5 separate regions of the Homo sapiens genome follow, and regions 1, 3, 4 and 5 are each linked to region 2. Evidence: promoter capture Hi-C in 16 types of primary human blood cells and fetal thymus (Javierre and others, 2016). All regions are on one chromosome and are shown on one strand. The core of a region is centred on a gene start or on the middle of the fragment in contact, and the rest is flanking DNA. Distances in the headings are between cores, read along the strand shown.

Evidence for each region. The method cuts DNA at HindIII sites, captures the fragments that hold promoters and counts their contacts. A CHiCAGO score of 5 or more calls a contact.
Region 1: a fragment that was not itself captured here is called in contact with the fragment with the promoter of ATPSCKMT in region 2 in 1 of 17 cell types (total B cells); the score reaches 5.4 in total B cells.
Region 3: a contact is called between a fragment that was not itself captured here and the fragment with the promoter of ATPSCKMT in region 2, in 5 of 17 cell types (activated CD4 T cells, total CD8 T cells, naive CD4 T cells and 2 more). The highest score is 10.6, in activated CD4 T cells.
Region 4: a fragment that was not itself captured here is called in contact with the fragment with the promoter of ATPSCKMT in region 2 in 5 of 17 cell types (naive CD8 T cells, non-activated CD4 T cells, total B cells and 2 more); the score reaches 8.0 in naive CD8 T cells.
Region 5: a fragment that was not itself captured here is called in contact with the fragment with the promoter of ATPSCKMT in region 2 in 1 of 17 cell types (total B cells); the score reaches 6.6 in total B cells.

What each region holds. Positions count from the first base shown.
Region 1 is chr5:5,416,798-5,419,497 of GRCh38, reverse strand. The region is part of intron 2 of LOC101929200 (a long non-coding RNA gene); the gene reads left to right. Among named protein-coding and RNA genes, the nearest start is that of ICE1, 4.5 kb to the left of the region's middle. RefSeq lists an enhancer at 146-215. The HindIII fragment of the contact is 1,560 bases long and covers 546-2,105 here.
Region 2 is chr5:10,248,474-10,251,173 of GRCh38, reverse strand. It overlaps ATPSCKMT (ATP synthase c subunit lysine N-methyltransferase), which reads left to right and starts at 1,286. Exons shown (of 5, transcript NM_199133.4): 1 at 1,286-1,316. The coding sequence starts at 1,301. CCT5 (chaperonin containing TCP1 subunit 5) reads right to left here and starts at 894. Exons shown (of 11, transcript NM_012073.5): 1 at 729-894. The coding sequence starts at 833. RefSeq lists silencers at 297-436, 507-576, 1,327-1,386, 1,397-1,516. The HindIII fragment of the contact is 6,282 bases long and covers 925-2,700 here.
Region 3 is chr5:6,373,869-6,376,568 of GRCh38, reverse strand. It overlaps MED10 (mediator complex subunit 10), which reads left to right. Exons shown (of 4, transcript NM_032286.3): 3 at 2,143-2,245. Among named protein-coding and RNA genes, the nearest start is that of MED10, 3.3 kb to the left of the region's middle. The HindIII fragment of the contact is 3,447 bases long and covers 1-2,700 here.
Region 4 is chr5:6,625,449-6,628,148 of GRCh38, reverse strand. It overlaps NSUN2 (NOP2/Sun RNA methyltransferase 2), which reads left to right. Exons shown (of 19, transcript NM_017755.6): 4 at 2,480-2,585. Among named protein-coding and RNA genes, the nearest start is that of NSUN2, 6.2 kb to the left of the region's middle. The HindIII fragment of the contact is 3,519 bases long and covers 1-2,700 here.
Region 5 is chr5:6,659,089-6,661,788 of GRCh38, reverse strand. The region is part of intron 3 of SRD5A1 (steroid 5 alpha-reductase 1); the gene reads right to left. Among named protein-coding and RNA genes, the nearest start is that of SRD5A1, 27 kb to the right of the region's middle. RefSeq lists an enhancer at 1,161-1,390. The HindIII fragment of the contact is 1,563 bases long and covers 669-2,231 here.

The DNA.
Region 1 (2,700 bases), core at 76-2,575, 4.8 Mb after region 2:
ATTAGGACTTAACCGAACCTTCTTGCTGAGGGGAAAGGCCATCCTCTGGGGCATCCTAGGGTGGAAGGCGTCTTGTGGGAACCACTTTGCTATCCGCCCACACACGTTCCACCAGGCTTAGTCCTAAGCTGTCTTTGCTCCAGTTTTTCTCAACACTCAGGGTTATAGTGGTGGGGTTTCGACTTGTCCTCAGACATCAGCAATTTGCTCACAGCCTCAGCTCTTACCCTCAAAGTGATTTGAAGCCAGAGAGTAAACATGTTGCTTCTTCCTGAAACACTGATGTTACTTAGAAACCGGACAAATAAAATTTAGTTTTGAAACAATTAGTTTGAAATAGAAAGCAAAACTGATATGATTATTAAGCAAAATTTTCTTCAACCTGAGAAAGCTGATTGAGAAAAGTAAAAAAAAAAAAAGCAACATTTGAAAGGACTTTCACAACTCTCACATTGCAGTCGCCCTCTGTAAAGGAGGACAAGCCCACTCTGCCTTGCGGGTTTGTGAACACCTGGCGGCTGTAAGAGTTGGTCACACGAGAAGCTTCTTGTAGCTTCCGGGATCGGAGGAAGAAGGCGGCAGGTGCTCAGAGGTGACAGGTGTTGAGGAGGGGATTCTCTGTAGAGCAGCTGGCAAGGGCATGTCCCACCTAACTCTGAGGAGGGATAGGAAAGGGAGGGACATGTTTCCCCTTCACCTGAGGCCAGTGGGGGGTCTCCTTGGTTTCTAGACCACATCTAGCAGCCATTTCAGTGGATGTATATGTTAATAAATTAAATCAACAGTTGCCTCTCGATGATGCTATATTCCAGAGCTTTGTTTTAATCAGTGCCCCCACGAAGTGAAGCACTCAGAGTCAGATGCTACATGCCCTAGAGTGGTTCCAAGGGAACCGTGGGACAGCTCCAGGAGATGGGTTGGAGGTGACTGAGCCGCATGCTCACCCGCACTGGGATGAGCAGGAGTTCTGCATACTGGATACGGTGGGCATTTCAGTGGGAGCTGCGAGGAAAGCGAGGCTGAGGCAAAGTGAGCAGCCAGAAATAAAACTTTGCTCTTCCATCCCCCATTCAAAGAACTGTAGCTGGATGTCCACAGCTGGAAAGTCCTCACTTTGAACTGTATCCACACAGCACCAGTGGCAGCCACTCACCAAAACTTGTTTCTATTCTGTCTAGTTATTCCCCAGCCTCCCTGCACCTGACATGTGATTAAGTTCTACCAGCCAAACATCAGCAAAAGGGGCCTGGCCCCTAGGGCCTTCCTGTGCTCTTTGTCACTTCCTGCTGACTGGAAGAGGGATGAATCCCAGGACCCTGAGCTGGTGGTTAAGTTACTGTCTCTCGGCCCCACACCTTCCCTTTTATACTCTGCCTTGTGACGTAGGGACTGGGGAGCCACGTGCCACCTCTCCTGCCAGAGTTCTGTTCAGCTGTGCCAACAGATATACACAAGGAAACCAGAAGATAAGAGGTAGGAGAGGGGCCTGTGCCTCCCATTCTGTCCTGTCCGACTCCTGGTCCTGCTAGCGTCTTGCTATCCTTGCTTTCGCACCTGGCAGTGGCAGTTCATGAACAGAGCGGCATACGAATTGGGTCTGCAGTTTCTCTGACACACGCAGAGCCAGCCTCATAGCATCCCCTCGGAGATACCAGCAAAGTTGGTTTCCCAGCTCCACAGAGCCCTGAGTCCAAGAGCAGAGGCCTCAGCACCAGCCCAGAAGGTCCCTTCTTCATATGTCTGAGTGTGATTTCTGGGTGGCAGCTCCTCCACATTTCTGAGTTTTGCTCACTCCTTCCTCCTTCTTTTATTCTCTCCAGCCCAAGGTGTCAGCTGCTTCTTGCGGTGGCTCCTCCTGTGATATTTTAGTGTTTTGCTTTTACCTTTTCTCTCTTAAAATAATCTGGGTGTAATGTGGGTCTCCTGGCTGAGCTCTGCCCCAGTCCTGTGCGGAAGATGCTCTTCCGTCCCAAGGAGCTCGCTGCAGGAGAGAAGCCCACCCCACCAGCCTGTTCTTTGTTCTTGGACTATGACTCAAGCACTTTGGGAAGCCAGGTTACAAAGACTGCATCTTTTTCTCCTGATCCCTTCTCCTACCCCAAGCTTGGAGGGGTCACAAACAAGCTGGTGAATAAGGAAAATGTTGGAACAGAGGAAAAGCCTGTCTTGCCCCATTCCCACCCACCCACACCCATCTTGCTAGCGTCTAAGAACGGCCACCAGCTCCATGGGTAAGAAGCTAAGTTGAAGACAGGAAATAAGTGACAGCACATCACACTGGACTGTGTTGTCTCCGAGTGACTGGAAAGGCTAGGGTGTGTGCCCAAGACTGCATCTGGGGTAAGAAGGAGCCCAGAGGACAAATCCCACAGACAGCAATGATTTAAAAACCAAGACATGGAGGAAGTGACTTTATGATCATCTTCTGCTCAGTACTGCCCTTGCTGAGGCATGTGCAGCCCCTTCTCCTCCTCCTCCTCCTCCCCCTCCTTCCCCCTCCCTCCCCGTCCTCCTTCCCCTCTCCCTCCTCCTCACCCTCCTCCTCCTCTTCCTCTTCATCCTCCTCCTCCTTCTGACTCACCTCCCAATGAATTCCTCAGTTGTTGTGTGTGCCCAGCTCTCATCCTTCACAGTGCACAGCTCCAATCAGCCCCTCTGCAATATTGGGCTTGGCGTGCAAGTGGCACCCCCTTCCATCCT
Region 2 (2,700 bases), core at 37-2,536:
CATTAAAACCGGATGGCTCTTCCATTCTACAACGTGCCATGCGCATTCTTGCCCAAGCCTTTACTTCTACCGTTTCCTCTCCCTAGAATGCTACCTCTCACCCCGATCTAAAGCTGTCCTCCAGCACCACGCTTATGTGCACCCTCTCCGTAGCTGTCCTTCTCACTGCACACCACCTTGTATTACGGTTATGTGCGTCCGTTTTTCACTCTTCGCTATTTTTCCTCAAGGGTGGGCAAAAAAGCACTCAGAAATGAAATACCCTGTTAAGTGACCACACCTTTACGAGTGACAAAGAAAACGGAAGGGCCGTTGCGGGTGGACCAGCGAAAGGTTAAGCAGCAGCGCCTTAACCGACAGGTGACAGAGCATCTCCCCGGCGCCCTCCCACTGGAGCGCAGTCCCACGCGGCCGTCAGGCTGGAGGAGCCGGGCGGGGAGGCGGTCCCGCTTTGCTCCCGCGGGCGACCGGACTGAGCGGCCCCACCCAGCTCCGAAGGGCGCTGGCGGCCCAGCCTGGCTGGCCCCCACATTCCGAGCCCAGGATTAGGCGCCGGCGTCTCCCGAGCTCAGTAAGCGGGCTGAGCGGCCGGAGACCGCAGGGAGACGGAGATTCTCGACCTTTCCGGGGAGCACATGGCAGAGCCGCTCCTCAACTCGCGCAGGCGCAGAGCCACGGCCTCGGCCACCTCCCCTTAGCCCACCGCGAGCAGGTCCCTGTGCCATTACCTTGAGGGCCTCAAGTCCCATAAGACGGGACTTGCGGTCCTGATCCTTGATGATGAGGAAAGGGCGCCCATATTCATCGAAGGCGAGGGTCCCCATGGACGCCATGGTGCAACAACCGGAATTACTTCCCCCCAACCGGCGGAGACCGCTACGGAAGCGAGAATGCACTTCCCTTTCTCGGGAGGGCCCAAAAGCTTGCGCACGCGCAGCACAAGACGCGCGGGACTTATGTTTCTACTGAGACTAATTTCACGCCAGACAGTATCTTCTGGAATCGGCGGCCTTCGGGAACTTCTATTATCCAGGAAGCCGGGGAGGGGGAGGTTTGAAGACACTTAGTGGAAATCTTAGGACACACAAGTCAAGAGCAGATTGAATTTGTCATTTTTTAAAACGTTACCACTGATAGTTTCTCGATAGTGGGTCCCAAGGAGGAATTCATTGACTTAAAGCACTATTTCTTTATTTCTTCGCACTCCGGCTCCGAGAAGATGGTAGGACCCATTTCCGGTTTTTTTTTTTTTTTTTTTTTTTTTTTTTTTTTTTTTAAAAACGCTGTTGGAAATCTCGCGATGGAGGGAGGAGGAGGTGAGGCTGGAGCGGCTTGGCGGGTTCCTGGGGGCATGAGAAGGGGTGCGGGCGGGCCGGGGGCTCGCGGTCAGCTGAGGTCTCCACTGTCGAGGCGGTGACCGGGTGCGGGCGGCTGCTCTGGCCTCCAGCCTGGCCTTCGGTGACCAGAGCTCCTGGTCGCCGCGCGGTGCCCGCGCCGGTTCTGGCGATCCTTGTCGGCGGGCGCGTTTCCCCAGAGACTGTTCTAGGCTACTTAGTGCAAGTGACTCAGCCTTTGGCACGATCTTAAGGAATAGGGATAGTGGAGGCACACTGATGGATTGGAATCGCAGTTCTGCCGCTCTTCCTAGCTGTGGCTTTGAGGAAATCCCTTAACTTCTTTGTCCCTCGGGTTCCCTGTCTGCAAAGTGACGGTGGTAACAGTAGTGCCTACTCACAGGGCTGCTGTGAGATTCAAGGAGAACGGTGCCTGGCAAGCTGAACACAGTGTTGGTAAATAAATTAACATTTTGCACAAATGGTTCAGTAACTTGCCACTGGTATACAGCTAGTAAGAAACAGTTACACAGCCTGATGCAATGGGTCCCACACTCTTTTTTTTTTTTTTTTTTTTTGAGACAAGACTGTAGCCCGGGCTGGAGTGCAGTGGCGCGGTCTCGGCTCACTGCAGCCTCCGCCTCCCGGGTTCCAGTGATTCTCGTGCCTCAGCCTCCCAGGCAGCTGGGACTACAGGCACAGAACCACCACGCTCGCTAATTTTTGTATTTTTAGTAGAGACGGTGTTAACGCCGTAGTGGCCAGGCTGGTCTCGAACGGCTGACCTCAAGTGATGTACCCGTCTAGGTCTCCCCAAGTGTTGGGCCTGAGCCACCGCGGTGCCCGGCAGGTCTCACTCTTAAGCCCTGTATTATGCTGCCTCAGAAAGATCTTGGCAACCGCAGCTGTCCTCTAAATCTCTTATGCTGCCTTCCTCCCCGCCCTCCAAGATCATGACTTAATATTTGATAGGTTTAGATTTATTTGTTGAGGGTTTCCATCCTTGCTTCTCCCCTACTGCCATGGGCAGGGACTTAACTAATAAAGTTGTATTATTCCCAGACTTTATTAGGCACTCAATAAGTGCTGAAATGAATACATGCACTATAACATTTGACCCTGTCCTGAAACTCAAGAACAGACTTGGCGACTGTGTTCCCATCTACTCTGGGGCTGAGGCAGGAGGATGGGTGGAGCCCAGGAGTTCAGTTTACAGTGCGCTATAATCGCGCCACTGCACTCCATCCTGGGCGACAGAGCGAGATTCTGTCTCTAAAAACAGGGAGGACTGACTGTCATGGGATGGTTGGTGATCTGTTAACTCTTCATGCTTGGCATACTTACGCGCTAGACCTTGAAGTGTTCT
Region 3 (2,700 bases), core at 146-2,645, 3.9 Mb after region 2:
ATACAGGAATGAGCTTTTAGATTTTTAAAATCCAGGTTTTCTTGCATTGATTTGGTCACATCTCTGATTTCACACATGAAGGACCTGATAAGTAACTGCAATAGGTTGTTTACCTAGTAAGTGTCAGAGTTAAGACGAAACCCCCGGACTCATACTTTCTTGACCAGTGCAAAGCAGCCTCTCCCTGATGGTGCTGGCTTGGAACAGCAAGAACATTCTAGTATTTCTTGCAGCAAAACTGCAAATGTAAATCACTAGATTTCGTTAAGCAGTAAAGGGAAAGAGTTATGGCTGTTTTCCATCCCAAAAGGTCAGAGATACAAGTTCTAGCTATAGTGCAGCAGCTGCCTACAAAGACAGGACACAGAGGTGGTTTTCTTGGTCTCTGATCTTCTGTTCACCTGCTGATGACTTTGCCCCATGTTCCTTACCTGTGCTCAGTGGGCACCACTGAGGTCTCTGACTTCAGGTGGGACGAAGGTCTTGCACCTCAGGTAGCTCCAGACTCAGCTTTGGCTTTCTCAGTCCAGGAATACAGAGCATCCTCCTTTGTGCTCTTCTGATTATGAATGCAGGGGATGCATATAGTGACAAGTGGCAAGTAACTACTTGTGTCTTCTGAAGCAGAACAAATGGAGACTGATGTGAACAGACTGCTTAAGGGCCGAGGGAAGTGCTGGGCACGGGGATGGATGAGATTGACCTGGGGTATCAGGAAGAGTATGCCAGTGAGCCCTAATACAGAGCAGATGCTGGGAGTTTATCTGCAAATCGGTGGTTGGTGTCTACCCAATGTAGAAGGAATTTCCAGGTCCCAGTGGCCTTTGCAGCGTGTACATTTTCATACACACCAACTGTGTCTTTAGCTAAGGTGAAAGCAGCTTGGCCCTTGTCTCCAGGACTTTGTGTGTGGGCAGGAGTGGGTTCACCCTTCGGTCTTCAAAGAACCAAGTCTGAGCAGGATGTCCATGCTGTTGAAGAAACGACCGTCAGCTGACATGGTTAACCTTATTCTGTGAGCCTGTCAGGTTTTTCTTGAGAAATGGATAGATTTTGTTTAGAATTAACCATAATTTTGCCACATTACATTATTTCAAAAACACTGAAATGAAATAGAATTTCTAGAACTTGTGATGTTTTTATCTTTTGCTATCTATCAAGGCTACTTTTTATACCATTAGTAGTAACCTAATGATATCTTGTTCTGAAGTGATTATATATTTTTGGCCTCAATTATAAAATTCGAAAGTAGAGTTAGTTTTCAGTTTTTGTTTTTTGTTTTTTAAATAATGAATGATTCAGTTTAGTTGAATGATAAGGATTTCTTTAGGGTACAGAAAAAGGTAGGTGGCCTGCTCTTGGTAAAATATAGGTATTGATCTAGGCAGTATGTTTAATTAAATCTTCAGGATACTGAAGATAATTTCTGGGGGAAGTGTCAGAAATTCTAAGTAACAGTTTTATACTGTTTAGAAATAATTGGCCAGAATGTCTCTGTTATATTTAAGTTACCTAGGTGTATTTAGTAAAGTGGTATATCAAGCCGCCTCTTCTTTTTAAAGCAGTGGAATGGTTTGTAAAAGGATCTTGGGGTCGTCAGGGCTGGGGCTCTTGTGCTTGTAGTTCTCCTTTCCTTTCCCCTGAAGCTCCTCCACAGAGGAGGAGGGGCTTTGCCAAGCAGCAGGGCTGACCTAGAATGGAGGCTGCATCGTGGAAGGATCCGCCTATGTCACCCAGGCCCGAACCCCTGGATCTCATTTAGTTTTTTCTTTTGTCAAGAGTTGCCTTACCATACAAGCTGCTGTAAGGATCAAAAAGGTAATAAATAGCATGAACGAATTTTGAAAAGTGCAAATGCTAAACACATGTAAAGTGGTATGGCTTGTGAAGCGTGCTTGGGTTTATCAGTGATCATTACTTGATTTTATGAGCTGTTCGTATTATCAGAAGTAATGAAATCAGATGATCTGTACTTGTGTAAATGAGGGAATATTAATTCCCCTGGTTCCTACACTGAGTTTTGTCTAAACAAGGCCGTGTGCAGTTATATATACCTAACCTTTATTCCCCCATACCTTTCAGAAAGCTGTGAGAATAGGTGTCAGTCATGAGAATGCTAATTGAAATATATCGTGTTTCCAGATATATAGATCAAGGTCGAAATCCCCAGCTCTACACCAAAGAGTGCCTGGAGAGGGCTCTAGCTAAAAATGAGCAAGTTAAAGGCAAGATCGACACCATGAAGGTAAGACTCTAAGGAGTGTCAGAAATACAGTGGGAAGAGATGCCTTCTCAGTGGAATTTGGTTAAGAGACTCATTTTTTTCCATACTTGCTAGAATATTGACTTTCATAACTTCACATATTGAGATTTCTGAATTGTGTAATAGGCAGTAAGTAAAATTAGATATCAGCTGCGTAATAGCATAAAAAACATACACTAATCTTACTCTTAAGGAAATCCAGAGTAATTTTTGTGATAGTAGTTCTCACTGGCTGTGATCATTTTCATTTTTTTAAGATGCACTTTTATTGCATTGATACTTTCTATTTCTGTAGTAATTCCTACTGTTGAAGGCTTTCCCTGTAGTCATGGTTCTTTGTTTTAGAGGATTCTTGAATATTGATTTTTCTCTTTGTCCAGCTTCTGACCTCCAAACTTCTTTTTACCATATCCATTGTCATGAAATTCCCCAGATCA
Region 4 (2,700 bases), core at 4-2,503, 3.6 Mb after region 2:
CTTGAACTCCTGACCTCAAGTGATCCGCCCACCTTGGTCTCCCAAAGTGCTGGTGTTACAGGCATGAGCCACTGCACCTCGCCTGTTACGTGCTTTTTAATGTCTAGATTGAGGATGGTTTGTCATAGATGTTGTATATATTTACAGAGTCCTTACCACTTGAGAATTTTTAATATGCAAAGATGACAGTGGTCCTTTTAACTTATCCTCTAAAAAGCCCAAATAGGATTTTTTCTTAAAAGACACAAGCTAAATTTGAAGTAAGTAACTAAAAATTAAATATACCTCTCATTTTGTTTGATGTTAAAATCTACAAAGATTTAATAAACATTTTTTGGTTCATAAAAAGATGATGCTGTTCCTAAAGCTGTATAAGAAACATAATTTAAAAACATTTCTTGTAGAAACAGGGCCTCGCTTTGTTGCCCAGGCTGTTCTCTGTACCCAGAGGAAATAAACATTTATCTGTTAGTTTCTGTTTGTATTTAAATATTTCAGAGTTCCTAAATGTTTCTTTACATGAGATCAACAGCCTTCACAATTATAAATACTGTAGAATTTTAATCTTGTAATAGTACGTTTACATTTTGACTATCAGAAATTTGACGAAAAAGACATATAAGGCTATATTTGTTCAAAGTATATCTAGACTGCTTATCTATATTTGAAAATGAAAATTCAGCTCTTTACAATAAGTCTAAATGGCATGTGGTGTTCATATTGATGTCTTAGTGATTTGGTAAGGCAATAACTTACATGATCGTACTAGCTTTGAGACAGACAAGTTCAGGAAGACCAGATACTATATGAGCTGGCATTTGGCTGTTTGCAAGTAGAGGTTACAGTGGCACAGCAGATATTTGCCCAATACTATAGCAAATGCCAAATTTGCATGTAACCTACTATTTCGCCTCTAATGAGTCCAAAAGATTATTTAAAACAATTCTTTTTAAAATTGCCTTATGAATATGATTTTCTTTTGGCTTTATATTTTTGAACACATTAAATGTCGAGGAGGGAACTGGGCTATATGAGATAGAATCAAAGCGCTGGGGACCTTTGGAGGGTGGCCGTGGACAGATTCAGCCAGTTTCGTCTTCATTATTTGGTAGAAAATGCTTTTCAGGTATATTTTGTAATATTTTGACTTGAGCAGTGTCGGGCTTTTAAGTCCTGAGTTTGTTTCCATCAAAAAATCAGAGTTTAAAAGCAGTCAAATGTGTTTGTGTTTTCCAGACATTCCAGTTTTATTTTCATGGTTTTCACTCTAGCTACAATTTGACGCATGGAAACATTGTGAGCCTGCATTGTTAAATTGAGTGTATTACTGCATCTCAGGTTTAGTGAGAATTGCTGAAACTACACTAAGATTTATGGCCGTGTGACGTGGTACACTTGGTTTGGCATTGGATTGAGCATGGTGCTGCATGACATCAGTGTGCTCATTTGTACGGTGCAGATGCCTGTATAGGTGCAGGCCAAGTTTCAAAGCACATCCTGGGTGGGGTACAGTGGCTCATGCCTGTAATCCCAACACTTTGGGAGACTGATGCGGCCGGATCACTCGAGGCCAGGAGTTCGAGACCAAGCTGGCCAACACGGCAAAACCACATCTCTACTGAAAATACACGTCTGTAATCCCAGCTACTCAGGTGGCTGACTGAGGCATGAGAATTACTTGAATCCAGGAGGCAGAAGTCACAGTGAGCTGAGATTACACCACTACACTCCAGCCTAGGTGACAGTGAGACTGTCTCAAAAAAAAAAAGGCAGTGTTTTTAGTATCCCCCATTTCTCCCCTAATTAAAAAAAATAAAAAAAATAAAAATAACATTGATGTCATCATTTATAGAAAGTTCAAATATATTCACAGATATGATGGCAGGAAATGCTTTATTCTTAGTTATATATAGGTAACAGCCTAGGAGCTCAAGTTAATGCATTAGTGGTTTCCAAGGTAGGATTTTTTTGGTATGTAAAATATTTTAGTGCATTATTGAACTGGTGTTAGAAATAATGAAAAATATATTTTTTAAAAAACTAATCAGGTATTTGTGGGACACTCTGACACTGCATTATTTTGATTCTGTGTGATCTGCACATTAAGTAAGTCATCTTGTATCTTTTTTTTCTGATGACCTTACCATTGTTACCTTATAATGGTGAAGAGCAGAGGAGTGTCCGCTTTTTCATCTGATCTCGAGCGTTTCATCATTATAATTTTACAGTAATATGCATAATCTTGTAACCCCCATGGCTCTCCTGTTTCTGATTGGGCCACGGTGTAGCTAGAGCCATGTTCCTTAAGCCTACAGCGACATCTCTGAGTGTTGCTGACTGTCCGTAGAGGATTGTGAATAGGAGCAGGGAGAACAACATTCGAAGTCTCATTTGGCATGCGACTGATAGAAGCACAAAGTTGTCAACAGACGACTTTAGTATTTATAATCCATAAATGTTTTGCTTTCTTTTTGGTCAGGTATCCTGAAGAACTTGCCTGGCACACAAATTTAAGTCGAAAAATCTTGAGAAAATCGCCACACTTGGAAAAGTTTCATCAGTTTCTAGTTAGTGAAACAGAATCTGTAAGTTGATTTCTTTAGACTTGCTAGTTTCCTTAAAGCTGTAAATGCATAGATGTAGTGTAGTTCTGTTTTTAGGTTCTTGTCACTAGAAGCAGTAGGTGGACATCACACACAG
Region 5 (2,700 bases), core at 201-2,700, 3.6 Mb after region 2:
GGCTGAGGCAGGTGGATCATGTGAGGTCAGGAGTTGGAGACCAGCCTGGCCAACATGGTGAAACCTTGTCTATACTGAAAATACAAAAATCAGCCAGGTGTGATGGCACACACCTGTAGTCCCAGCTACTCGGGAGGCTGACGCATGAGAATCGCTTGAACCCAGGAGGCAGAGGTTGCAATGAGCCGAGATCGTGCCATTGCACTCCAGCCTGGGTGACAGACCTAGACTCTGTCTCAAAAAAAAAAAAAAAAAAAAGACAAACCTATTACGCCCTAAGTCATAAGACCAATTTCAGCAAATACTGCAGCATAGGGTAGAGACTACATCTCTGAGCACACTGCAACTTACATGCATGCATGAGGGCTTTTGGCTACCTTTTTTTTTTTTTTTTGGAGTTTTGTATTTTTAGTAGGGATGGGGTTTCACTATGCTGGCTAGGCTGGTGTGGAATTCCTGACCTCAGGTGACCCACCTCTCTTGGCCTCCCAAAGTGCTGGGATTACAGGTGTGAGCCATGACACCCAGCCTGAGATGGTCTATTTTTTTAAAAAGAAAGAAAATGGTTTTGCTGAGCCCGAGACAGCACAGTGCTTTTCTTTTTCTTAAGGAAGGTGGGGTATGTAGACGTTTGCAATAATGAACTCTCTACTACTTTTCTGTAAGCTTGAAATAATTCAGAATTGTAAAATAATACTGATATGGTTTGATTCTGTGTCCCCACCCAATCTCATCTTGAAGTGTGATCCCCACAGGACAAGGAAGGGACCCAGTGGGAGGTGACTGGATCATGCAGGCGGTTTCTTGTGATAGTGAATTCTCATGACATGTAATGGTTTGAAAGAGTGAGGCAGATCCCCCTTCACTCGCTCTCTCTCCTGCCACCATGTGAAGGTCTTTACTTCCCCTTTGCCTTCTGCCATGATTGTAAGTTTCCTGAGTCCTCCCCAGCCATGCGGAACTGTGAGTCAATTAAACATTTTCTCTTCATAAATTACCCAGTCTCAGGTAGTTCTTTATAGCAGAGTGAAAACAGACTAATACAAATATCAATATTCATTGACAAGTGAACTTTTTAATGACAATATAAAACATAAAAATATCAAACTTAATGCCCAATAAATAGAATGTCATTCGCCATGTGTGGGCATGTGCACCTGCAGAAGCACCTGCAAGAATGGACCCAAAGCATTCACAGCGCTGTTCCTTCTGGGCCATGGAGCTTAGTCACTTTCACTTTCTTATTCACCCATTTCTGTAACTGCTTCAACTTTCTACAAGATTACGTTAATCATGATCTGTATTTCATCAGAGCCCTGGGCAGGTGAATCCCAGACGTGGAAGGACCTTTGTACCATACCCTGCAGATGCCAGTCACCCAAAGGGCAGACAGCCTGTGGGCAGGGCTGGGGCCACGATGCCTTCCTGCATGCCGCCTGCTCAGTGAACCTTCTCTCTTAAGTGTCTGGTGTGGGACACACGGTGTGGTGGAACCGTATGGGTGGACTGGTAAGCATGGAATTAGACTGGAAAACCTGCAGATGCCAATCTGCTAAAAAATGTCCTCTTGAGACACAGGCTGCTTACAGATGCCACATTACAAAACCACAAACTGGTTGTCACACACAGCCCACAGCACTTGTCCTAAGCCCTAGTTCAGCCTGTATGTACTGACTATGGACGTCACACCTGTGCACCTCTCTTTATCTCTTTATTTGTTCATTTTGTCACTTGCTCCTTTGACCCTAACCAGTTATGGCACCATGATTAACAGAGTCCTGCGAAGCGTTTCTGAAAGACCTCACGGAGTCACTGGATGTAGACGGCACACCTGTGTATTAGAAACCATCAATGTGTCACATGAAAACGCCCTGCAAAATTAAGAGTCTGCAGCGAAGGGAGCTGGTCACAAAGCCGACCATGGTGGAGTCTTCATGGGGCACAGCACTCAGACTCCCTACACCTGAGTCTTCAAAACCTGACAGATTTTACATGAGGGACTCCAAAGCTAGGATAATATTTTGGCTTCCACGTTCCTTGGGCCTCTCGTGTTGCTGCCTCTAAGACCCTGGCACGGAACGCTGCCCTGAAGAATCTAACGAACTTTCCCTTACAAGCCACTCATGGCACGTGCAGATGATCGTCACTGTTTCCTGTCCACTTCCTCCGGTATAGGGTGCGTACCTGCAAACGGCAGACGCTCTTGTGTCTTGTTTTACTTCACAAAAGCTTTCTTGAATTAGTTTTTAAAATATATTCTGTTCCAATGCTTTGGATTTCTTCTTCATGGACTTCAATGTGCCTAGGATGGATATATTTTCCCTACCTTCTCCAGCTATCACCAAAACATCATTCACAATAAGAATGATCTTTTTTGGCCGGGCACGGTGGCTCACGCCTGTAATCCCAGCACTTTGGGAGGCCAAGGTGGGCGGATCACGAGGTCAGGAGATCGAGACCATCCTGGCTAACACGGTGAAACCCCATCTCTAGTAAAAATACAAAAAATTAGCCAGGCGTGGTGGCGGGCGCCTGTAGTCCCAGCTACTCGGGGGGCTGAGGCAAGAGAATGGCGTGAACCCGAGAGGCAGAGCTTGCAGTGAGCCGAGATCGCGCCACTGCACTCCAGCCTGGGTGACAGAGCGAGACCCCGTCTCAAAAAAAAAAAAAAGATTTTTTTTTTTGAGACAGGGTCTCCCT